4 separate regions of the Homo sapiens genome follow, and regions 2, 3 and 4 are each linked to region 1. Evidence: promoter capture Hi-C in 16 types of primary human blood cells and fetal thymus (Javierre and others, 2016). All regions are on one chromosome and are shown on one strand. The core of a region is centred on a gene start or on the middle of the fragment in contact, and the rest is flanking DNA. Distances in the headings are between cores, read along the strand shown.

Evidence for each region. Contacts are between HindIII fragments. The CHiCAGO score rates a contact against its expected background, and 5 or more counts as called.
Region 2: a fragment that was not itself captured here is called in contact with the fragment with the promoter of C11orf65 in region 1 in 1 of 17 cell types (total CD4 T cells); the score reaches 5.5 in total CD4 T cells.
Region 3: a fragment that was not itself captured here is called in contact with the fragment with the promoter of C11orf65 in region 1 in 1 of 17 cell types (naive CD8 T cells); the score reaches 5.3 in naive CD8 T cells.
Region 4: a contact is called between a fragment that was not itself captured here and the fragment with the promoter of C11orf65 in region 1, in 2 of 17 cell types (total CD4 T cells and naive CD4 T cells). The highest score is 5.8, in total CD4 T cells.

What each region holds. Positions count from the first base shown.
Region 1 is chr11:108,464,704-108,471,295 of GRCh38, reverse strand. C11orf65 (chromosome 11 open reading frame 65) reads left to right here and starts at 3,767. Exons shown (of 9, transcript NM_152587.5): 1 at 3,767-3,825. RefSeq lists a cis regulatory region at 3,683, enhancers at 3,611-3,755, 3,696-4,548 and a silencer at 5,580-5,874. The HindIII fragment of the contact is 4,195 bases long and covers 409-4,603 here.
Region 2 is chr11:108,189,912-108,196,242 of GRCh38, reverse strand. It overlaps NPAT (nuclear protein, coactivator of histone transcription), which reads left to right. Exons shown (of 18, transcript NM_002519.3): 3 at 2,226-2,286; 4 at 4,053-4,125; 5 at 5,743-5,783. Among named protein-coding and RNA genes, the nearest start is that of NPAT, 30 kb to the left of the region's middle. The HindIII fragment of the contact is 1,146 bases long and covers 2,047-3,192 here.
Region 3 is chr11:108,166,205-108,173,064 of GRCh38, reverse strand. NPAT (nuclear protein, coactivator of histone transcription) reads left to right here. Exons shown (of 18, transcript NM_002519.3): 13 at 1-866; 14 at 3,022-3,137; 15 at 3,213-3,321. Among named protein-coding and RNA genes, the nearest start is that of ACAT1, 48 kb to the right of the region's middle. The HindIII fragment of the contact is 921 bases long and covers 2,262-3,182 here.
Region 4 is chr11:108,139,483-108,143,472 of GRCh38, reverse strand. ACAT1 (acetyl-CoA acetyltransferase 1) reads right to left here. Exons shown (of 12, transcript NM_000019.4): 7 at 3,258-3,408; 8 at 1,773-1,868; 9 at 923-1,036. Among named protein-coding and RNA genes, the nearest start is that of ACAT1, 20 kb to the right of the region's middle. The HindIII fragment of the contact is 4,039 bases long and covers 452-3,990 here.

The DNA of each region.
Region 1 (6,592 bases), core at 2,518-5,017:
GAGATATTTTGCAGACCCTGCACTTGATGATTCCACTAGCATCACTCAGATCAATAAACTGGCTTATCTGGTCTTGTGGCCCCGACCCAGGAACTGACTTAGCATAGGAGGACAGCTTCGACTCCCTTTGATTTCATCTCTGACCCAACTAATCAGCAGCTCCCCACTTTCTGATCCCCTACCCACCAAATTGTCCTTAAAAACCACAATCCCTGACATTTCAGGGAGACTGATTCAAGAAATAAAACTGCGGTCTCCCATACTGCCAACTCTGCAAGAATTAAACTCTATTGCAATTCCCCTGTCTTGATAAATTGGCTCTGTCTAGGCAGCAGACAAGGAGAACTCATTGTGTGGTTACAGTCTCAAAAAAAAAAAAAAGAAAAGAAAAGAAAAAATATTTAAGCTTGGCACCATTATTTTTGTTGATGGTGAAAATACTAAAAGGGGCCAGGCATGGTAGCTCACGCCTGTAATCCCAGTACTTTGGGAGGCCGAGGTGGGTGGATCACAAGGTCAGGAGATCGAGACCATCCTGGCTAACACAGTAAAACCCCATCTCTACTAAAAATACAAAAAATTAGCCAGGTATCATGGAGGGCGCCTGTAGTCCCAGCTACTTGGGAGGCTGAGGCAGGAGAATGGCGTGAACCCAGGAGGCAGAGCTTGCAGTGAGCTGAGATCCTGCCACTGCACTTCAGCCCGGGCAACAGAGCGAGACTCCATCTCAAAAACAAAAAAAAAAAAAGAAAAAGAAAATACAACAAGGGTACACAGAAGACAAACAGTCCCCTGGCATAACAAGAGTCACTGTAGTGAAGAGGACAGATTTCTCAGCCAAGAATTAGCTAAAGGTGCCAACTCCCTTCCTCTAGCCTCTTCAAACTGCTAAGCCTCAACAAGAGGATTGATGCCTGGTTGGAGGTCCCTCTGGCCTCCTTTAGGACCACTGCAGGACCTGTGCCTTTGACCCACACCCACTCCTCATGTGTGACATTGTGGTTTTCTACTACATGACATATTTTCCACAATTATAAAAGATTCCATGCTCACATCCGGGAGACAGCCTTGGAGTCCCCTATTGTTGGAGTTTGCTCCAGTGCCAAAGCAGAGAGGAAAGAAATGGCATATAATTGTGACTCTTCTCCCTAGGCAAAATGGCATGTAATTGTGACTCTTCTCCCTCGGCACTACAGATATTTCCCCTTTCCTCATGCCAATTCATTTTTGTTTCCTTATCTCTTGTCTTCACATGGTTTATAAAGAAAAATCTTTGCCTTGTAAGTGGAAAGCAAGAATATTAATTTCATAAATATAATATGATATATTGTATAATAGTAGTAAGACAAAGAAGAGAGAAAAAGAAGAGGAAGAGAATAAGTGGAGAGGGGAAGAGAGAAGGAAGGAAGGAACGATTTCTGTGAAACCACCCAGAAGTTCTTCTGAGTTCTGCGTCTTAGTAAACTGTTCCTAGATTTAAGCAGGTACATATAAATGAATAAACCTAACACTTGACAGTTTCTAGTCTTAATGATCCCTTGTGGCTACTTTAAAGAAAGATACTTTTAAAGAACTGAACAATTTTTACATGTATTAGAGCAATAAGAAAATGTTCTAGCCTGTTATGTAGAAATTGCTGAATTCTTGTGGATCAGGTTAGAGGTAACATAAGTACTCAACAGTAACTATTGTAAATACTTTTTAAAATAATTCAGATAAGCACTACATTAAAAATATGCAGTTTATTAGGTTGATGCAAAAGTAATCGCGGTTTTTGCCATTATGTTTAATTATGTATGTTTAATGACAAAAACCGCAATTACTTTTGCACCAACCTAATAAAAATAATATCTAAACAGCAGTATACCTTAAATTTATTTTTATATTTCATCCAGTACATTTAGGAATTTTTGTTCTAAATTATTTACTGGCTTAGTTTTGCAGTTTTTTAATTTAAAATTTTTAAATTGTGGTAAAATATACATAAATTTATCCTTCTAACTAGTTTCAATTGTACAATTCAGTGGACTTAAGTACATTCACATTGTTGTGTAATTTTGAATTTAATTTTTTTTTTTTTTTAGAGGGAATCTTGCTGTGTTGCCAGGCTGAAGTGCAATGGCGCTATCTCGGCTCACTGCAACCAACCTCTGCCTCCCGGGTTCTATCAATTCTCCTGCCTCAGCTTCCTGAGTAGCTGGGACTACAGGCAGCGCGCCACCAGGAGATTGAGACCATCCTGGCTAACACAGTAAAACCCCGTCTCTACTAAACATACAAAAAATTAGCCGGGTATCATGGAGGGCGCCTGTAGTCCCAGCTACTTGGGAGGCTGGGCTAATTTTTGTATTTTTAGTAGAGAGGGGGTTTCACCATGTTGTCCAGGCTGGTCTTGAACTCCTGACCTCAAGTGATCCGCCCACCTCAGCCTCCCAAAGTGCTGGGATTACAGGTGTGAGCCACCACACCTGGCCTGAATTTAAATTTTTTAACCCAGTTTCTATTAGATTGAAAATTAAGATATACATAATGTTTCCATGACTATATTTTTACAGTTTATTGTTCATAACTACTGTGTATTAATGCATCAAGGCAACTACATAAAGAGGAACTGAAGCTCACCCCTTGCTTATGATTGTGATGATTTTAAAGAACTCTGGAAGTTCAGTGAGTCACTGAATTAACCTACCAAGAATTTTTTCTGTACAAATGTTTTCATTATACAGGGAAATTTCTCTTCAGGTGTTTCTTTTCCCTCCTTAAAAGTTTATCTTCCTTACAAACAAATTATATTCCATGCATGAACATAGGACGAACATAGCAAAACTGGGCAGTTCTGAACAAGATTTTTTCACATTGCAATAATCTGTGACCAACTAAAGCACTGCCAAAGTGTCAGACTCAGAATTCAAGCAAGTCAGACTTGCTTTAGATAAGCAGTGCTTGCATTATTTAAGGTCATTTGAAAACTCATTCAAGAGGTCGTCTGTTTTCACTTAAAGCAGTTTAGCTTAACCAGCTGAAGAGCTTACATTTAGAAATAACATTGGACTGCAAGTCACGTATTCTTTGACCTTGAGCAAGACCTGTCAAATAGCTAGAAGGATCAGTTGTCTCATTTTCAAATGAATAAATTAAACTAATTAAATAGGCCGGGCGCGGTGGTTCACGCCTGTAATCCTAGCACTTTGGGAGGCCAAGGCGGGAGATGGGGTAGGGGGGGATCGCTGGAGCCCAGGAGTTCAAGACCAGCCTGGACAACATGGAGAAACCCTGTCGCCACTATTAATAAAAATAGAAAAATGAGCCTGGCGTGGTGGTGCACTCCTACGGTCCCAGCTACTCGGGAGGCTGACGTGGGAGAATCACCTGAGCCAGGGGAGTTCCAGGCTGCAGTGAGCCGAGATCGCGCCACTGCACTCCAGCCTCGGCCACAGATTGAGACCCTATCTCAAGAAAAATTTTACAAAAATTAATAGAAAATATTTCATTATATTTCTCAACATCTTTAAGGTTCTTGGTTGAAATGACTGGGCTTTATTATATACTAAGCCCAACTTCGTAGACAATCACTTTGCTTTCCCTTCCAAAATCCTTTGCCTCAAAGCCACTGACAATCGAAAGCGGGCTTCTAACAGAACCAGCAGCCTTCACAAGCGGTTGGTCTATATCCCCTGCACTTTGTCAGAGCGCGAATAGAGGAAAGGCGGGGCCTAGAAGGCGGGGCTAGGAGGGCAATGGGGCGGGACAGAACGGATTGAGTTACGTCATTTCCGCCTGCGACGTTACCTAGGAGTCCAGCGGCGCCCGGGCCAGCAGCGATTGGTAGGTGAAGGGAATAGTGTCCCTTCTCTCAGCGCGTACTACTGTTCCGGTAGCCTTTGTGCCCACTGGTTTGAGCCTTCGTTGTTTCAAGGCCCTAAAGAACCCATACCCTTGATACCATTCCCCATCCGCCCCTCTTAAGGACGTTTCATTCCTCTAAAGCCCTCCCAGCGAGGCCTCCAGCTGGTTTACAGTCCTGCCCGGGAGTAACCCCTTCCTCAGAGCTCCTTTCCTCGCCCTCGGTGAAGTTGCGTCGGGCTGGTTGACAAGTCCTTACTGCTCATACTGCGCCTTCACAGATCCCCACACCCCAATCCTCCGCAAAGATATTACTCCGTCCACCTTCCCGCTGACCGGGAAGTACACATTAATCTTCCTTAGATTTTTCCTCATTTCTTTCCTTTGCCCCCTCCCATTTGTTTTACGTCTTTTCAGTTTTTTTAGAGATGGAAAAGGGAAACGCGTTTTTAAAGAATAGGTTAGTTTTTCTTCTCCTGCCCCTAGCATCAAGGACCACAGGTAAAAAGGAAAAGCGAAATTACGAAACTTATAAAGGCCACGCGAATCATTTGTTTATTCAATAAATTTAGTAGAGGAAACAAAATAGGACGTATACAGGTTCCAATTCAAGCAAAGTAAAGATTGTTTGCTGCTTTAAAAGTGAAACCAAGAATCCAAACACGTCTTGTGGGCTTTTTTCCACGAAGCGTAAAAATAAATAAGTGAAAACATCATCTATTATGATAAAAAATTTTATTGATTAGGGATATAATAAGCTTGGAAAATACTTATCTGTGAATCTACAAGTGGCACATGGGTGTAGTAAAATACTTCATTGCCTGAGCAGTTGTTTGATAGTACATTTTATTTGGTTAGTTTTTTGTTGTTGTTTGTTTTTGAGAAGGCATCTCGCTGTGTTGCCCAGGCTGAGTGCAGTGGCGTGATCTCAGTTCACTGCAACCTCTGCCTCCTGGGTTCAAGTTATTCTCCTGCCTCAGCCTTCCGAGTAGCTGTGACTGCAAGTGTGCGCCACCACACCCAGTTTATTTTTGTATTTTTACTAGAGACAGGGTTTCACCATATTGGCCAGGCTGGTCTCAAACCCCTGACTTAAGGTGATCTGCCCACCTTGGCCTCCCAAAATGTTAGGATTACAGGCCTGAGCCACCAGACCCGGCCTGGTAGTACATTTTAGTATCTTAAAACTTATGAAGGGTTTTCACAATGGTTATTTTATCTGGAGCATCATAATAACCATATAAAGTCGATCTTATTTCTTATCTAAAGCCAGCAACGGTCCCACCCTCCTTTCTGCTCCAGATGGTGTCCTCTTACACCTACTCAAAGGTTTTACCATTTAACTTATCCCTTTTTTTGCCCCTTTAAGTTCTCCGTCACTTTAATTTCTCCCTCACTACTGGATGGTACATTTTAACATGCTTTAGAATCTGTCGTTTTTTGTTGTTGTTGTTGTTTTTTTTTTTTTTTAGACCGAGTTTCACTCTTGTTGCCCAGGCTGGAGTAGTGGCATGATCTCGACTCACCGCAACCTCCGCCTGCCAGGTTCAAGCAATTCTCCTGCCTCAGCCTTCCTGAGTAGCTGGGATTACAGGCATGCGCCACCACACCCAGCTAATTTTGTATTTTTAGTAGAGACGGGATTTCTCCATTTTGGTCAGGCTGGTCTCAAACTCCCAACCTCAGATGATCCGCCCACCTTGGCCTCCCAAAGTGCTGGGATTACAGGCGTGAGCCACCGCGCCCAGCCTTTTTTTTTTAAAAAAAAACCTTTAATCCATTCTCACTCTCTAGCTACACCCCATTTTTCTGCTCCCTTACAGCACTCCAAAGAATTACTACTGTACTTACTGTCTCAACTTTCCCACTTCCTCAACCCAACCCAAACTTCCTTCCCTGCTTACTCCACTGAAGCAGTGCCTGTACAGTCACTAGTGACTTTATCTGGCCAAATCTCCCTTTTTTTCCTCTGTATTTACTTGCCCTTGCAACAATATTTGACACAATTGAATATGTTCTTTCTTGAAATTGTGGAACTTCATTGTTTATTTCTGAATCAGATAATTTTGAATGCTGGAATATATTTCCTCTATATTTTGTGTATTCATAAACATATAATGGTGGCATTTATGACATACTTTTTTGGCAGCTTCTAAACACCCTTTAGCCTATGTCACTAGAGAAGCAGGAAGCAGGTGTATGCAGAAAGCCCGTGTAAAATTATTTAGATCAAAGTATTCAATAAACTGGTTCAGGATTTTCAAGGGATTTTTAAGATCCAGTGTTAAATTTCCACCTACAAAATTGGGAATGTATTTGGGAAAATGATGAAATTGTGATGAATTAATGCTAATGCTGTCACGTTAAATAACACACACACTACATTGATAACAGGTAAAAAATCTCACAGTTTAGTTCTTGGAAAGTATTAAAAGACCCATTTTAATCCTAATATCTAATTTACGTTTAGTTTTTTACTTTTCTAAAATTTAGAGTCAAGCATTCCCATAGAATGTTTATGGGCATAAATTAGACACCATTTTTGAGGACAGTTTGGCAGTGTTAGGTTTCAATATGCACGCTGTTTTTTTTAATGAAGTTATATTGTATATATCTGAACTAAATGCACATTGTGGAAAAATACCAACAGCATAAAAGAGTATACTGGAACAAAAACATCTCTTCCCTTTCCGAACCCAGGCTCCTCAGTCCACAGGTCCCTTCCTAGAGACAATCATTCTTAGTAATT
Region 2 (6,331 bases), core at 1,370-3,869, 270 kb after region 1:
ACAATTCATTGCAGAAAGGATGGTCTTATCAACAAATGTTGCTGGAACACTCAGACATCCATATGTAGAAAAAGAACCTCTACAAATACCTCATACCTTATGCAAAAATTAACCAAAATGGATCAGAATGTAAAACACAGGACCGTAAGACTTCTAAATGAAAACATAAGAAAAAAATTGTGCAAAGTTGGATTTGACAGTGAGTTTTATATATGACACCAAAAGCATGGGCTATAAAGGCAAAAATTAGGCAAATTCAACTTTATAAAAAATTAAAAACTTGCTCTACAAGAGGCACGTTAGAAGAAATAGGCTGGGCCAGACCCAATGGCTCATGCCTATAATCCCAGCACTTTGGGAGGCCCAGGCAAGAGGATTGCTTGAACTCAGGAGTTCTGTACCAGCCTGGGCAACATAGTGAGACCTCATCTCTAGAAAACAATTTTTAAAAATTAGCCAGGTATAGTGGTGCACTTAGTCCCAGCTGCTTGGGAGGATGAGGCTGGAGGATTGCATGAGCCCAGGAGGTCAGGGCTGTTGTGAGCCACAACTGCACGGCTGCACTTCAGCCTGGGTGACAGAGTAAAACCCTGTCCCAAAAAAAAAAGGCTGGGTGAAAATATTTATATCTTACATGTCTGATAAAGGGTTTGTACCCAGAACATATGTATAGAATTCTTAAAACTTAACAACAAAAACCAAACAATTTTTTAAGTGGATAAGAGATCTGAAGATACTTTACCAAAGAAAATATACAGATGGCAATAAGCATATGAAAAGATCTTCCATATCATTAGTCATTAAGAAAATGCAAATTAATACCCCAGTGAGATACTAATTCCTGTTAGAATGGCTAAAATAAGAAAACAGGTTTAAAAACTGGCAAGTCCTTCACCACAAATATGCAGAGCAGCAGGAACTCTTGTTTCTTACTGGTAAGAATTAAAAGTCATACAGTGGCTTTTGAAAACAGTTTGACATGATTATGACATGATTATATGATTATGCATGTACTCCTCATGTGAACCAACACTCACATTACCCAAATCAATTGGAAAACTTGTTCTCACAGAAAAACCTAGACACTGGTGTTTGCTTATAGTGGCTAAAAACTGAAAACAGGCTAAGTGTGGTGGCTCACACCTGTAATCCCAGCACTTTGGGAGGCCAAGGCGAGTGGATAGCGAGGTCAAGAGTTCAAGACCATCCTGGCCAAGATAGTGAAACCCCATCTCTACTAAAAATACAAAAATTAGCTGGGCATGATGGCGTGCGCCTGTAGTCCCAGCTACTCGGGAGGCTGAGACAGGAGAATCGCTTGAACCCAGGAGACAGAGGTTTTGGTGAGCCGAGATTGTGCCACTGCACTCCAGCCTGGGCAACAGAGCAAGACTCCATCTCAAAAAAAAAAAAAAAATACTGAAAACAGGCCAGGCGTGATGGCTCACACCTTTAATCCCAGCACTGTGGGAGGCTGAGGTAGGAACATGGCTTGAAGCCAGGAGTTCGAGGCTATAGTAAGCTGTGAGCAGCCACTGTACTCCAGCCTGTGTGACAGAGCAAGACCCTGTCTCTAAAAAATAAAAATAAATTTTAAAAACTGGTGACAACGAAGATGTCTTTCAAAAATTGACAAACTCTGATGTGTTCATAACAGCAATACTCCACTACTCAGCAATAGAAAGCAACATGCTATTGATTCACACAATAACGTGGATGAATATTAAATAAATCCTTCTGATTTCTTCTAAATTAACAATTCTGAACAAATAACAAATTGTAGATAGTGGGAGCCAGATTTCTCACTGTGTGAGGAAGAAGATACAAATAAACATAATAATGAAACCAGTGGTGTTGGGTTATAGTCTGAGATATTGGTATGACACTGTAGTTATTTTAATATATATATATACAGCTAGATGATACAAATGCTTGTGTATATGCATTTGTACATGTATGTATAGCTGTCTGCTGAGAGGGTCTGGAAGCAGTGATACCCAAGTAGCTATAATGTCCTAGTCAAACAGGCAAGATTCTTTAGAAGCTTGGATGCAAACCCTAATTTCAGTGGCTATTTTCATTTTCGATTACCTGCTTCTTTACCCTTTCCTCATCGCTACTCTGCAGTCAGATCTTTTATTAAGTTGAATGGTAGAATCTTTTCTTGTGAGAAATTATTGGTAGTATTATACAATTTTGGTAATATTTGATCTTTTTCTTTTCAGTCCTTATTTGGAAAAAACTTGACAACAATTTTAAATGAGTATGTAGCTATGAAAACAAAAGGTAAGAGTTCTGATTTGGAGTTTTTTTGCTGATGTATACAATATTTATCTACTTGATTTAGTTAAAAATGATTTCTAAAGGTTATTAATGTCTCATAAAAGCCTTGAAAAAACTTGTCCCTGTTGTAATGAGATAAATTTTTCTGGGACACATCTAATTTGTTTGTGGGTTTTGGTTTTTTGTTTTGTTTTGTTTTTTTGGTTGTTGTTTTTTGTTTTTTTGGTTTTTTTTGAGACGGAGTTTCAATCTTGTTGCCCAGGCTGGAGTGCAGTGGCGTAATCTCAGCTCACTGCAACCTCCAGCTCCTGGATTCAAGCGATTCTCCTCAGTCAGCCTCCCAAGTAGCTGAGAATACAGGCATGCGCCACCATGCCCGGCTAATTTTGTATTTTTAGTAGAGCCAGGGTTTCTCCATGTTGGTCAGGCTGGTCTCGAACTCCCGACCTCAGGTGATCCACCCACCTCGGCCTCCCAAAGTGCTGGGATTACAGGTGTGAGCCACTGCCCCCAGCCATTTGTTTGTGTTTACATTGAGTGGTACATAAATTGCAACAATCTTTATGTTAGCAAAAATAACCCAAAAACTACCTTTAAAAAATATGTAAAATAAAACTCTTACCTCTGTGTTATCTACACTGATAAACAGACATCACTATGTGTTAAAAAGTTTTAAACTGACATTTTAATTTTAATTCTATGTAGTCTAAGTCTGAACACAGAAGCCAGTCATACACTGGCTTATAGTTACTAGAATATAAAATTCTACTTGCCTAAATTAAGGATGTTTTAGAGGGAAAGTTTTGACTGCTTATTCTCTAATATTGATTATTTTCAATAGCTTACAACATTAACAAAACAATTAGCACTAAAGAATTCGCATAAGATGATAACAAAGGAAAAGAAGCTTGACATTTTTTGACATTGTCTGTGTATAAGCATTGTGCTACGTGCTTTCATATGTTTTTTTTCTCATTTAGTCTTTTCTTTGTTTGTTTTTTTTTTGAGACGGGAGTCTCGCTCTGTTGCCCAGGCTGGAGTGCAATGGCGCGATCTCGGCTCACCGCAACCTCCGTCTCCCGGGTTCAAGCAGTTCTCCTGTCTCAGTCTCCCGAGTAGCTGGGACTATAGGCGCACGCCACCATGCCCAGCTAATATTTGTGTTTTTAGTAGAGACAGGGTTTCACTATGTTGGCCAGGTTGGTCTCAAACTCCTGACCTCATGATCTGCCCACCTCAGCCTCCCAAAGTGCTGGGATTACAGGCGTGAGCCACCATGCCCGGCCTCTCATTTAGTCTTTAGAATAACCCAGTGAGAGAGATTGTTTAAAGCCATTTTTAAATATGAGAAAATTGAGGATTAAATTTCCACACTTATAAGGAATTTGCATAACCTTTATGATAATTATTATAAGACAGATTACTTTAATTCACTTTCATATGTCACATGATATCAGATAGAACAAAGATCAAAAAATTGTTTCTCCTTTTTTTAATAAAATGAAGGTGTAAAATTATTGGCCAAAAAATGCTTCAGAGATTTTACAGATGTCCATTTCTACTCATATTGTATCTGATACTCAGTGGCTTTAGAAGAGAAAGCAACCGCATTATAGCTTTGCAAGCTATTTTACAACATAGATTTATTTCTCATTTTCCAACATACTGTCAATAATTGAGAGACAAGGTTTTTTGTGTGTCTTTGTTCAGAATGAATGATGAAATTTCTTCAGCTGGGTTTATTAAGAACCTTTTCTCCTATGATTTAGAAACATCAAATAATGTCCCAGCAATAATGTCATCTCTATGGAAGAAATTGGACCATACACTTTCTCAGATCAGGTAATAAGCTATTAGAATGTGCCTAATGATTTTGGAATGCAAATACACTTTGGGTTTAAATCTTCTTAAGACCTACACAGTGTACTTATATAACACTCATCCAGTTTTGAAATTACTCTAGAGGTTGCTGGTACTGTGGAGGTTACTGACTGACATAATTTGAAATAAATAGCATACTTTTAATAAAATATTTAGAAAACTAAGATATGTAGTAGTTTAATGACATTTCCAAGTTTCCATAGCAATTTAAAGGCAGATATATTGTTAGAATACAAATCACCTAATCCCAGGCCACTGTGAATTCCCTTAGGCAACTGTCTCTTTATTACATATTCACAGAATTGATGCGTTGAACCCATGCCCACTTGGTTTCTTAACTTGTAAAGAAAAAAGCTTGAAGAATAATGCTAATTCTGAAATCTTCTGTTATCAATTTTATGAAAATCTCATATTTGACTATAGAATTTGTTATGAAAACCATAGTCTCTTAACCTTTCTTTCAGAGCTATAAGTGACTACCCCACCTAACTTCAGCATGGGTTTCATTTTCTTCCTCTGCTTAACCTGCTAAAATGGCTCCAAATGCTTTCTTCTTAACTCTGGACCACATCTTACTTGGTAGTCTTATCTTTATATTTCTCTTTCCTGACTCGAGTTTTGTGGATCTTGTTGGAGACTTACTTGACATATTTTTTATGATAATGGCACCGTGTCTGTGACTTTATCGAATAAAGGGGTGGGCCACTCTAATTCATACTAAAAGAATTAACTTGTACTGTGAATTTTTCCATGTTTGTTGGCATCTTCTTTAGAGGTACAATAAAATAATTTCATAGTCATAAATTTTATAAAAGCTGGATGTCCTCTGACATCAACTTGGGGATTCTGAAGTATTTATATATGGAGTCATGTGAAATCAGAATTTCTCTGTGGGAAGGCATCTCTATAATTGTGAAAGATAATAAAAAATGTATACTTTGTATATTCTTACTCAAAAATGTTAATATGTAGAGTTTCTAAAGTTAAATTATCTTCTGTTCATTTTTTTAAGAGGTAGGGTCTCACTCTGTTACCCAAGCTGGAATGCGGTGGTGTGATCATAGCTCTTGTAGCCTTGAACGCCTGAGCTCAAAAGTTTCTCCCACCTCAGCCTCCCAAGTACCTAGGACTACTGGCACATGCCACCTGGCTAATTTTTATTTCATTTTATAGAGACAGAGTCTTGCTATGTTGCTCAGGCTGTTCATGAACTCTCGGCCTCAAGTGATCCTCTCACCTCAGCCCCCCAGGGTGCTGGGATTGCAGGCATGAACCACCATACCCAGCCCAGATTGCATTCTTAACGTAATGTCAAGGCACTCTAATGCATTATTACATTGGATAGAAACTTCTTAATGAAAATTATGTGTGTTGTGAGTGTGTCTACATGCCACTATTTTTCTCCTAAAGCAAATCACAGTTGCTTGCCCAAAAAATGTGTGTGTTTGTCTTTTTTGTCTGAGAGAGATTTTTTGCCTTTTACCTCATAACTAACTTGAGGTCTGACTGTAACTAAATCATAGTGGATGTCAGCAACAAACATTTTTTGATGGATAACTACTTTGTTTTCTTTGTTAGGAGCATGCAAAGTTCCCCAAGGTTTGCTGGCAGTCAGAGAGGTTGGTATCCAACTTTAAACAATGTTCACAATTACTTCAAACTTAAACTATCAGATGAACATTTTAATTCATTGTACACATGTGCTAAGTATATATTTTCCTTAAACTACTGTTTTTCTTTCTTTTTTTTTTTTTTTTTTTTTTTTTGAGACAGTGTCTCGCTCTGTCGCCCAGGCTGAAGTGCAGTGGCACGATCTCAGCTCACTGCAACCTCCACCTCCCGGGTTCAAGCGATTCTCCTGCCTCAGACTCCCAAGTAGCTGGGACTACAGGCGTGTGCCACCACACCCAGCTAATTTTTTTTGTATTTTTAGTAGAGATGGGGTTTTGCCATGTTAGCCAGAATGGTCTCAATCTCCTGACCCCATGGTCCGCCTGCCTCAGCCTCCCAAAGTGCTGGGATTACAGGCGTGAGCCACCGCACCTGGCCAAACTACCGTTTTTCTAAGTACAGTTATGTTAATTAATATTTTCATTTATCATTAAAATATTTTGTAAATACTCCCTACATTTCACATTGACTCATGTAGAATGTTTTAATTCTCATT
Region 3 (6,860 bases), core at 1,473-3,972, 300 kb after region 1:
ATCTGTTGAGTTAAATCATACAGAAAATGAAGCTCAGGCATCCAAGTCTGAGAATTCACAGGAGCCTTCATCTTCTGTAAAAGAAGAGAATACTATTTTTCTCTCTTTAGGTGGAAATGCTAACTGTGAGAAAGTTGCACTGACGCCTCCAGAAGGCACTCCTGTAGAAAACAGTCACTCTCTTCCTCCAGAATCTGTGTGTTCTTCAGTGGGAGATTCTCACCCTGAGTCCCAAAATACTGATGATAAACCTTCTAGCAACAACTCAGCAGAGATAGATGCATCAAATATCGTCTCTCTCAAAGTTATCATTAGTGATGATCCATTTGTTTCCTCAGATACTGAACTTACCAGTGCTGTTTCTAGTATTAATGGAGAAAACCTGCCAACTATAATCTTGTCTTCTCCTACTAAATCACCTACTAAAAATGCAGAACTAGTTAAATGCCTATCTTCAGAAGAAACTGTAGGTGCTGTTGTATATGCCGAAGTAGGGGATTCAGCCTCAATGGAACAGAGTCTTTTAACATTCAAATCTGAAGACTCTGCAGTAAACAATACTCAGAATGAAGATGGCATTGCTTTTTCAGCTAATGTTACACCATGTGTTTCCAAGGATGGAGGATATATACAGTTGATGCCAGCCACAAGCACAGCTTTTGGCAATTCAAATAACATTCTGATAGCTACCTGTGTGACTGATCCAACAGCGTTAGGAACATCTGTAAGTCAGTCTAATGTAGTGGTGTTGCCTGGAAATTCTGCACCTATGACTGCTCAACCTCTACCACCTCAGTTACAGACACCACCAAGGTCAAACAGTGTATTTGCTGTCAACCAAGCTGTGTCACCAAACTTTTCACAAGGTAACTTTAATAACATAATTGAAATTTGTTTCTCTGGGTTGGGATCTAATTTCTTTTGTATGTGATGTTATTGACTGCGAAGTAATAACTAATGAGTAGATGGTATGAGAAAAGATTCTGAAATTTGTGATTACGCTGCTTCTTTATGCTAGCTAATTCAAACCTTTTTTATTTTTCTTAATCTGCTAGTAAGCTATGGGCTTTAGTGGTTTTTCTTTTTTCTTTTCACAAATACTTCTCAATCTATGTGCTAGTAAGTTACAATAAACAGAAAAGACAGACTAATTCATCACATAGTTGTATAAAACCCAATGTTGTGGGGGAGTTTTTAAAAATAGCTCTTATAGTCATGGTCTTCAGGGAATTCATCATCTTTTTGGAGAAATTTTCAAGAAAAACTTGAATTTCAGCCGGTTATGGTGGCTCACGCCTGTAATCCCAGCACTTTGGGAGGCCGAGGTGGGCCGATCGATCACCTGAGGTCAGGAGTTTGAGACCAGCCTCGAGAACATGGTGAAACCTCATTTCTACTAAAAATACAAAAAAATGAGCCAGGCATGGTGGCAGGTGCCTGTAATTACAGCTACTTGGGAGGCTGAGGCAGGAGAATCTCGTGAACCCAGGAGACAGAGGTTTCAGTGAGCCAAGATCATGCCATTGCACTTCAGCCTGGGCAACAAGAGCGAGACTCTGTCTCAAAAAAAAAAAAAAACTTGAATTTCTTCCTTTATAAAATCCTTTCTAATTGATCTCTGTCTTTAAAATCCTTTGTTTATGGCTGGGCTCAGTGGCTCATGACTGTAATCCCAGCACTTTGGGAGGCCGAGGCGGGCAGATCACCCGAGGTCAGGAGTTCAAGACCAGCCTGGCCAACATGGTGAAACCCCGTATCTACTAAAAATACAAAAATTGGCATGGTGGTGGGCACCTGTAATCCCAGCTGCTTGGGAGGCTGAGACAGAAGAATCTAAAGCTGGGAGGCAGAGGTTGCAGTGAGCCAAGATCGCACCACTGCACTTCAGCCTGGGTGACAGAGTAAGACTCTGTCTCCAAAAAAAAAAAAAAAAAAAAAAATCCTTTTTTCATAGGGGCTCTTGTGGCATTTATTGCGTGCTGTGTTATATGTAGTTAGTGATTGATATGCCTATCATATTGATAATTTTTTATTGTATGTTCCTCAGAGATAGTGCTCATGGCACATTTATTTACATTTCCTTATGTGTTGGTTCCCAAGCTTCCCTCTTTTCCCTTTTTGTTACATTATAGACATACAATAAAATTTCATTAAATATCAACAATTAGTATTAAACCTAATGGGTCTGTTTTACGTGCTGTTACAAATTACATAAAGGAGAGGTCAGAATTAATAGAGAATGTGGGGCTTGAGCTAAAGCTTAAAGAATGAAGGTAGGATTTGGAGTTAAAGCAAGGAAGTTTTTATAACTTATAAAATCTGTAAGTTATAAAGAGAAGCAGCACCAGCATAGACAGAGAGACCGTAGTAGGTTGCATGAAAATGAGGGGATCAACCTGACAGTAGTGTATTAGGCAAAAGTTTGTTTATGGACAGGACTAAATTACAGTAGCCACAAACTATGTTGTTGACTTCTGAGGACCATGTAGACATTGTAATTTTCCCTCCATAGTTTTGACCAGTTACGTGCTTACCTTACCCCCTTTTGATCAATACCATTGAGATATGTAATAGGTTGGGGTTACAAGTGTAGTCCTGGGTATAAATATTCAGTTGGGGTTGTAATTTTCTGGTGTAAGGTTCAGACTTGAAACATTCACCACTCATTTTCTAACTAGTTTCATTATTTCTAGAGGAATCCAGATATGATTGTAATATGATGTCTTGGCTGTAGAGTCTTATGCTTGATCAGCATGGTTCACTGACTGAATAACATTAAGACCACCTTAATATTTGGATTGACTTTTTCTTAATTTGTTAGCCTTGCTGTTTTTCCTAAAACTGTTTCAGTTTCGTTTTTTTTGTTTTGTTTTGTTTTGTTTTTGGAGAGTGGATCGTAAGGAAGAGGGATTGTTCATAGAATTTATTTCAAAGCAGTAATTAATTTGTGCCAAACATTTGTTTGTTTTGTGCCAAAACATTTCAGAGAAAATCTTTTTTTAACAAGAATTGTTTTTTTAGGATCTGCCATAATAATTGCCTCTCCAGTCCAGCCTGTACTCCAAGGAATGGTAGGGATGATCCCAGTATCTGTGGTTGGACAGAATGGAAATAACTTTTCTACTCCTCCTCGGCAGGTAAGATTTATGAACTGAAAATGGTGTGGTGATGCTTTTCAAGCTTAGTGTAATTAATGGCTTTTTCTCTTCCAGGTTCTTCATATGCCTTTGACAGCACCTGTATGCAATAGAAGTATCCCTCAATTCCCCGTCCCTCCAAAATCTCAGAAGGCTCAGGGACTAAGAAACAAGCCTTGTATAGGTACCATTTTTAATTTCATTAATGTTAACTTTATGTTTGTATGTTCATTTGTTTGCAGCAACACCTAAATGTTTTCTTTCTGAATACCTAAACCATTTTAAAACAAGTGATCACCCTACATTTGCTAGTAACAGATGTCATAATGCAGCCAACTGTTACTGAACAGCTTTGGTTCTGAGAAAATTGTCTCCTTTGTTGAATCTGTTAGCTTTTGCCCAGTAGTCCTTGGTTTGTTCTTTGCAGCTTCCCTAAATTAAGTATAGTCCCTATTTTTCCCAACAGCTTTCAAGTGTTTAATGAATGCCTCGTATAATTGTATGAGACTTTAGAGCAGTTCTTCTTGTAGTTTAGTGTGTATATGAACTATTTGGGGATTTTGTTAAATGCAGGTACTGAATTGATAGGTCTGGTACAGCACCTGAAATTCCTCATTTCTAACAGCTTCTAAGCAATGCCAGTGCTGCTGGTACTGGACCACACTTGAAGCAAGGCTTTAAAGTTTGCAAATTACCTTCCTGTGTTCCCTGTTTTAGCCATTGTCCCAACCATCTGTTTACTTGTGAAAAACCTGGTAGTCACTCTTAAAACACATTTTCCTCTCCTTCTTAGTTCAAGTATTTGTCATTTTTCATCTAAGTTGTATCAATAGTGTCATGTAGTCTCCCTTCTTTTAGTCTCTGTTGTTTCAGTTCACCTCATATCTGCTGGCTGAGTGACTTTTTTTCCCTAAAATACAAATCTGAATATGTTGCTTTCCTGCCTAAAAACTTTCAGCAACTCCCCTTTGCCCAAAGGATAAAATTGAAATTTCTCAGGGTGACATATGTGCATACATTTGTCATCTAGTCACTCTCGACCTCTCCATCTCATCTCTTACCACTTCCCAGCATGGACCCTTTGTACAAACTATAGTTGCTGCTCACCTTATACTTGGTGATCTTTCTTGTCCCTGTACCTTTTACCAATGCTATCTCTTCTACCTAGAATTCCCCCTTCTTACCCAACTCTTACCCTCAATCTGGTTCTTATTTATCCTTCGAAATTAACTTAAATGTTCCTAGGAAGCATTTTTAACCAGCGGTGGCTGAGGTGGATATTCCGGTTTTATTTTTTTCTTTAATTCTTAGTGATACCTATGCTACAGCACTTAACACATTACATTGTATTTCTTCTCAGTAGTCTGAGTATCTTAAATGCACTCATTATACAGAGAACTCAACTAACTGCTATCAAATCAGCCTTTCCTTAAACTAAACAGTATACATCTATTGATGTAGGCTTAAGTTGCATTTTGACTTATTGAGGCACCCTCTTAGACTTATGTCCTGTTATAGCTACTCTATATTATTTTTATGTTCTTTCTTATAACTAGTTCATTCCTTTTAATGGCCATTTGATATCTATCACTTGCATAAATGTATTTTATATATGTCCTATCAGTGGACTTTTCAGATGTTTTCGATGTGACATGCAATGATATGAGGAACATCTTTGTAAATGCCTCTGTGTGAACCCATATGAGAGTTTCTTTGGGGGCTTATTCCCAGAAATCTTTGGGTATACTGGGTATAATAGAGAAGAAGTATATCTTCTCTATGACCCAGAATTTCTGAGTCATAGAGAAGAAAATTTATACTTCTACCATTATTTTCCCTGCTTCCCTCACAACACTACCAATATTTGATACCATGTGATATTTTAACTTTTGCCACTATGATGGATTTAAAGTGGTAGTATCTCATATCATTCTTTTACTTTATTCTGATTACTAATAAAGTTTGGAATCTTCTCTTATAACTATAAATAATATTTTCCCTTCTGTGAATTGCTTATTCATATCCTTTTCCTACTTCTCTATTAAATTTCCTGTCTGTTGAGGTGTTATACTTTTATTAGTAACATATCACAGATGTCTTCACAGTCTGACACTTGTTTTTATCCCTTACAAAGTTGATACCAGAAAAAAACATTGGTGAGGTTAAGCATCCATTTATGATAAAAGCTCTTAAAGGCTATCTATAGTAAACATCATGGGTTCCCTTTAAAGCTGTGAATAACACAAAGATACTCATTCCCACCCTGTATGTAATAAGCCAGTGTTTCCAACACCAGTAAATTAATTATTAAGTAATCAGTTTTTTGCCCCACTGACATCTGATTATACTTCCACCATAAACAAGGTCCCATACATCCATACATATGTGGTTCCAGACAATACAGTAAGAAAATGGAGCTGGGCATGGTGGCTCATCCCCATAATCCCAGCACCTTGGGAGGCTGAGGCAGGAGGATTGTTTGAGTCTAGGAGTTTGAGACCAGCCTGGGCAATATAGTGAGACCACATCTCTAGAAAATAAATTTTTTAAAAGTAGCCAGCTGTGGTGGCAGATAGTAGTCCCAACTATTCGGGAGGGTGAGGCAGAAGGATTGCTTAAGTCCAGGAGGTTGAGGCTGTAAGTAAGCCATGATCATGCCACTGCATTCCAGTCTGGGCAACAGTGAGACCCTGTCTCAGAAAAGAAAAGAGATAGGTGTAAAGATTTGAAGAGAGGGAATTAAACTGTTATGGAAAATGATGTGATTTTTACACAATAAAGCCACAGGGAGTTAATAGAAAAATTAATAGAACTAATAATTCAGTAAAGTTGCCAGGTATGGTTAATTAAAATTGTGTTTTAGGTGCCAACAATAAACACCTATTAAGTGTTATACAAAATAAGATACTGTTTATAATGACCACAAAAATGATAAAGTATAAAGGAAGTAACCTAACCAAAAATGTTAGAAATGGAGAATATTTGAAATCTTTCATAAAGGATGTATAAATAGAAGAGAACCATGTTCATAGATTTGAAAATTTAACAGTGTAAAGATTGCAATTATTCCAAGTTGAATCAAAAATTCAATGTAATTTTCCTTAAAAATCCCAGTAGAATATTTTGGGAGATGGGAAAAACTATAAAATCTATGAGAAAGAATAAAAGTCCATGACTAGCCAAGATAGAAGAGCAGAGGACAGACTCATTCTACCAAATGGTAAAATATTGCAGAGCCACAGTAATTAAAACAAAAAGACAAATGGAACAAGATAGTTTAGAAAGAGACCTTGTACATGGTAATGTTAACATCAGAAGTCAGAGCAAGATGGATGGTATAATATATGAAATGTATTGATCATTAAATATACAATATATAGAGAAGAAAGTAGATCCCTTCCTCATACAAAGATGAAGTCCAAGATGATTAAAGACCTAAAAGTAAAAAGTCAAACAATTAAATGATAGAAGAATGTATAAGAGAATATTTTTATGACATTAGGATAAAGGATTTATTTATTTTTTTATTTTTTTTTAGATGGGAGTCTTGCTCTGTCACTCAGACTGGAATGCAGTGGCATGATCTCAGCTCACTGCTACCTTCGCCTCCCGGGTTCAAGCGATTCTTCTGTCTCAGCCTCCCTTGTAGCTGGGATTACAGGTGCATGCCACAACACTCAGCTAATTTTTGTATTTTTAGTAGAGACAGGGTTTCACTATCTT
Region 4 (3,990 bases), core at 1,222-3,721, 330 kb after region 1:
GAACTTGCCCAAGGCCACAGAGTTAATAAATACTAAAACACCACACATGTAAATTTTGTATTTCTGGACTCCTAATCCCATATTCTTTTTTTCCTACATAGCTGCCTCTGTAGGAAAATGCATGTACTTTATTTTCTGCTATTTATCATACAGGACAGGAAGTTTTTTAAAGCTTAATTTAAAAAAAAAGAAAAAGAGACAAGATCTTGCTCTGTTGCCTAGGCTGGCTGCAGCTTTGACATCTTGGGCTCAAATGATCGTCAGCCTTAGCCTCCTACGTAACTGGGACTACAGGCATGCTACCACACCTGGCTAATTTTTTTCTTTCAGAGGTGGGGTCTCACTGTGTTGCCCAGGCTGGTCTCAAACTCCAGGCCTCAAGCAATCCTGCCTTATCCTCCCAAAATGCTGGGGTTACAGGCGTGAACCACTGTGCCCAGCCCTTAAAGCTTAATCTTATATAAAGTATAATGAAAATATTAAAGGAGCTTCTATCTCAATTGAAATATGTATCAATTAAATTCTGCCACAAGTACAACCTAGGTAGTAATACTTAATATTGGAGTTGGCTATATCTAACAAGTAAACTCAATTTCATGAAGAGCTTATAGATGTTTAGAAACCTTATTTTTTTTTAAGACAGGGTCTCGCTCTGTCACCCAGGCTGGAGTGCAGTGGTACAATCTCAGTTCACTGCAACCTCAAACTCCTGGGCTCAAGGCATCCTCCCACCTCAGCTTCCCGAGTAGATGGTAGTACAGGCACATGCCACCATGCTCAGCTAATTTTTTAACTTTTTGTAGAGACGAAGTCTCACTATATTGCCCAGGCTGATTTCGAACTCCGGGGCTCAAGCAATCCTCCCACCTCAACCTCCGAAAGTGCTGGGATTACAGGTGTGAGCCACCTCGCCTGGCCTTACCTACTATTCTTGCCAGTGGTGTAACATTGAGCCTCTTCGCTGCATCTGCCGTCATGAGAACCAGAGCAGCTGCTCCATCATTCAGTGTACTGGCATTGGCAGCTGTTACTGTGCCTGAAAGCAAAAATGAGGTTGAAGTCAAAACATTCCTTCACAATAAATGTATTTGGTTCAATTCAACAAATACCTATTGCCTGGGCTGCTAAATGTTTAAAGAAATTACAAATATGGGTGGAGACAATTCCTGCCCTCAGGAAACATGTACACAGCTAACTGCAAGACAATGTAAGAATGCCTTTTTGTGTACATAAAACAGTTTTCTCAAACATCACAAACATGCATGATGGCACTGGATAAATGCTCGTCTACAACTCTTGAAACATAGGGACCAGTTAATATTTTTGTCTCCAGGGTCTAACTTTCCTTATTCAATATATAGCAGGTACTCACTACATATTTTTCAAATCAGATATTTATTCTTATCTAGAATCACCTGGAGATAAATATAAATGAATGTTAAAAACTACCAAACCACTTTAAATAGAAGAATGTTATTATGGTATATAAATTATATCAATAAATCTGTTTTTTTCAATGCCAATGAAGACCCTATCATAGACTGCTACATATGAAAAACTGAATTCTATAGTCATGTTATACATATCTTCCCTGGGATTTATATATTGAAGGTATAAACTACCAAAACAATTTTACATGAGCCTGATATACTGAAAATGTTAAATAACATCTAGATGTTTTCTAGAATTTTTCAAAATCCTTAGGCAATTCTAAGAACTAGATATGGTATACTGGCTCAATTTTTTCTTATGCTTCATTTCTTAACACTAACCATTTTCTTTCTGGAAAACTGTCTTCAGCTTTGGAACTTTGCTAAAATCAACACGTTTATATTCTTCATCTTCTTTCACCACTACATCTGGTTGACCTAAAATAAAAATATTTTAAGTAAAATCGCTCAAAACAAGTAGTCATTCAGCAAGCAACTGTTGTACAAGATGCCTAGTAGTCTGTGCCTCCCTTTGTATCCCTGCTTCACTTAAACCATCCCAAGTAAACACTCATCTAGAATCTGTTAACTATAACCTCTATTATGTTACCATCTTAAAAAGAGAAACTTACAAAGTAGCTTCACAATTTTTTTTTTTTTTTTTTTTTTTTTTGAGGCAGGGTTTCCCTCTCCTGCTTAGGCTGGCATGATCACAGTTTACCTCATCCTCTCCAGGCCCATGTGATCCTCCCACCTCAGCCTCCCAAGTAGCTGGGACTACAGGTGGGAGCCACCACAGCCAGCTAATTTTGTTTGTTTGAAATGGTCTTGCACAGTCTCCCAATAGAGTGCAATGCTACAAACCTAGCTCACTGCAGCCTCGGACTCCTGGGCTCAATTGATCCTCCTGCCTTGGATTCCCTAGTAGCTGGGACTACAGGCGTGTGCTGCTATACCCAGCTAATTTTTAATTTTTTTGTGTGGAGGCCAAGTCTCACTTCGTTGCCCAGGCTGGTCTCAAACTCCTGGGCTCAAGCAATCCTCCCACCTCGGCCTCCCAAAGTGTTGGGATTACAGGTGTGAGCCACTGCACCCAGCCACAAAATTTAAATCTTCTACACCTCCATGTCCCCTTTTCTTCCTCAACTCCCTTCTATGATCACAGACCCCACTCTCCTGACCCCAGAGGCAGCTGTCTGACCTACACTAGATAAGCTCTAGTATTCTGTCACCTAGAGCACAGTAATCATTCCTGGAATAGAATTGTAACCTAAAGCAAGTTAATGAGTCTTCATTGTGGATTTATTCTGCTGGAACTGGTGAGAAAGTCTCTCCTTTTTGAGAACCCTATATATGTGACCCTAGAGGTAGAGGCAGCAACTTTAGAAAGGCTGAGAGAATAAAGCACAAAAGCCTGCAGGTGTGAGAAGCCAAGAGAGCATGTCTTAGTAGTAGTGAACACCCAGTTCCAATCCCTGAAGTTCCCAGAGCTGAATGGTTGCTACTGTTCATCCTTCAGTTCTTGGAGGCACTCCCGGTAACCTTCTAGTAAATCCCTTTTCAATTTAAAATACCGTATTGACTGTCACAGGAAAAAGTTCTAATAAATTTCTCAAATTTAAAGTAATACTCAGGGATCTTATAAATGGATTGAAATCTGACATTAAGTTGGGTAGATTTATATTCTCTCTGAACTGGCAACTCTTCACTTTTTATTAACCATAAGCAGTTGAAATGAACCAAGATAATGTCCTAATTTAAAACTTAAGCATAAAACATTCAGCAACATGAAAAGTCTATTCATCCTTTTTGGAACATTATCTCTACCTTTTACTGTAACTGTGACAGGAATAACTTCATTTCCAAATTTCCCAGCTTCCCATGCTGCTTTACTTCTGGTATAAGAATTAATAGCATAAGCGTCCTGTTCATTTCGTGCAATATTCAGCTTCTTTGCTGTATTCTCAGCACAGCTGCCCTGATAAAAAGTTGAAATATTTTAAAGTTAACTTTGCATAATTTAGAAAATATCTATTAACTTTGCCTAACTTATAGTGTTTAATAGTTAACGTTTCTTAAAATATATTTCTTAGGCCGGAGGTGGTGGCTCATGCCTGTAATCCCAGCACTTTGGGGGGCCAAGGCAGGCAGATCATGAGGTCAGGAGATCAAGACCATCCTGGCCAACATGGTGAAACCCCGTCTCTACTAAAAATTAGCCGGGCATGGGGGCACGTGCCTGTAGTCCCAGCTACTCGGGAGCCTGAGGCAGGAGAATTGCTTGAGCCCAGGAGGCGGAGGCTGCAGTGAGCTAAGACTGTGCCACTGCACTCCAGCCTGGGCAACAGAGCAAGACACCATTTCAAAAAAATAATAATAACATATATATATACACACACACATATATATTTCTTTCTATACCAGGTCACTTTTCACTCATGTCTTTTTTTGAGACGGAGTTTGACTCTTGTCACCCAGGCTGGAGTGCAGTGGTGCAATCTTGGCTCAATGCAACCTCCACCTCCCGGGTTCAAGCAATTCTCCTGCCTCAGCCTCCTGA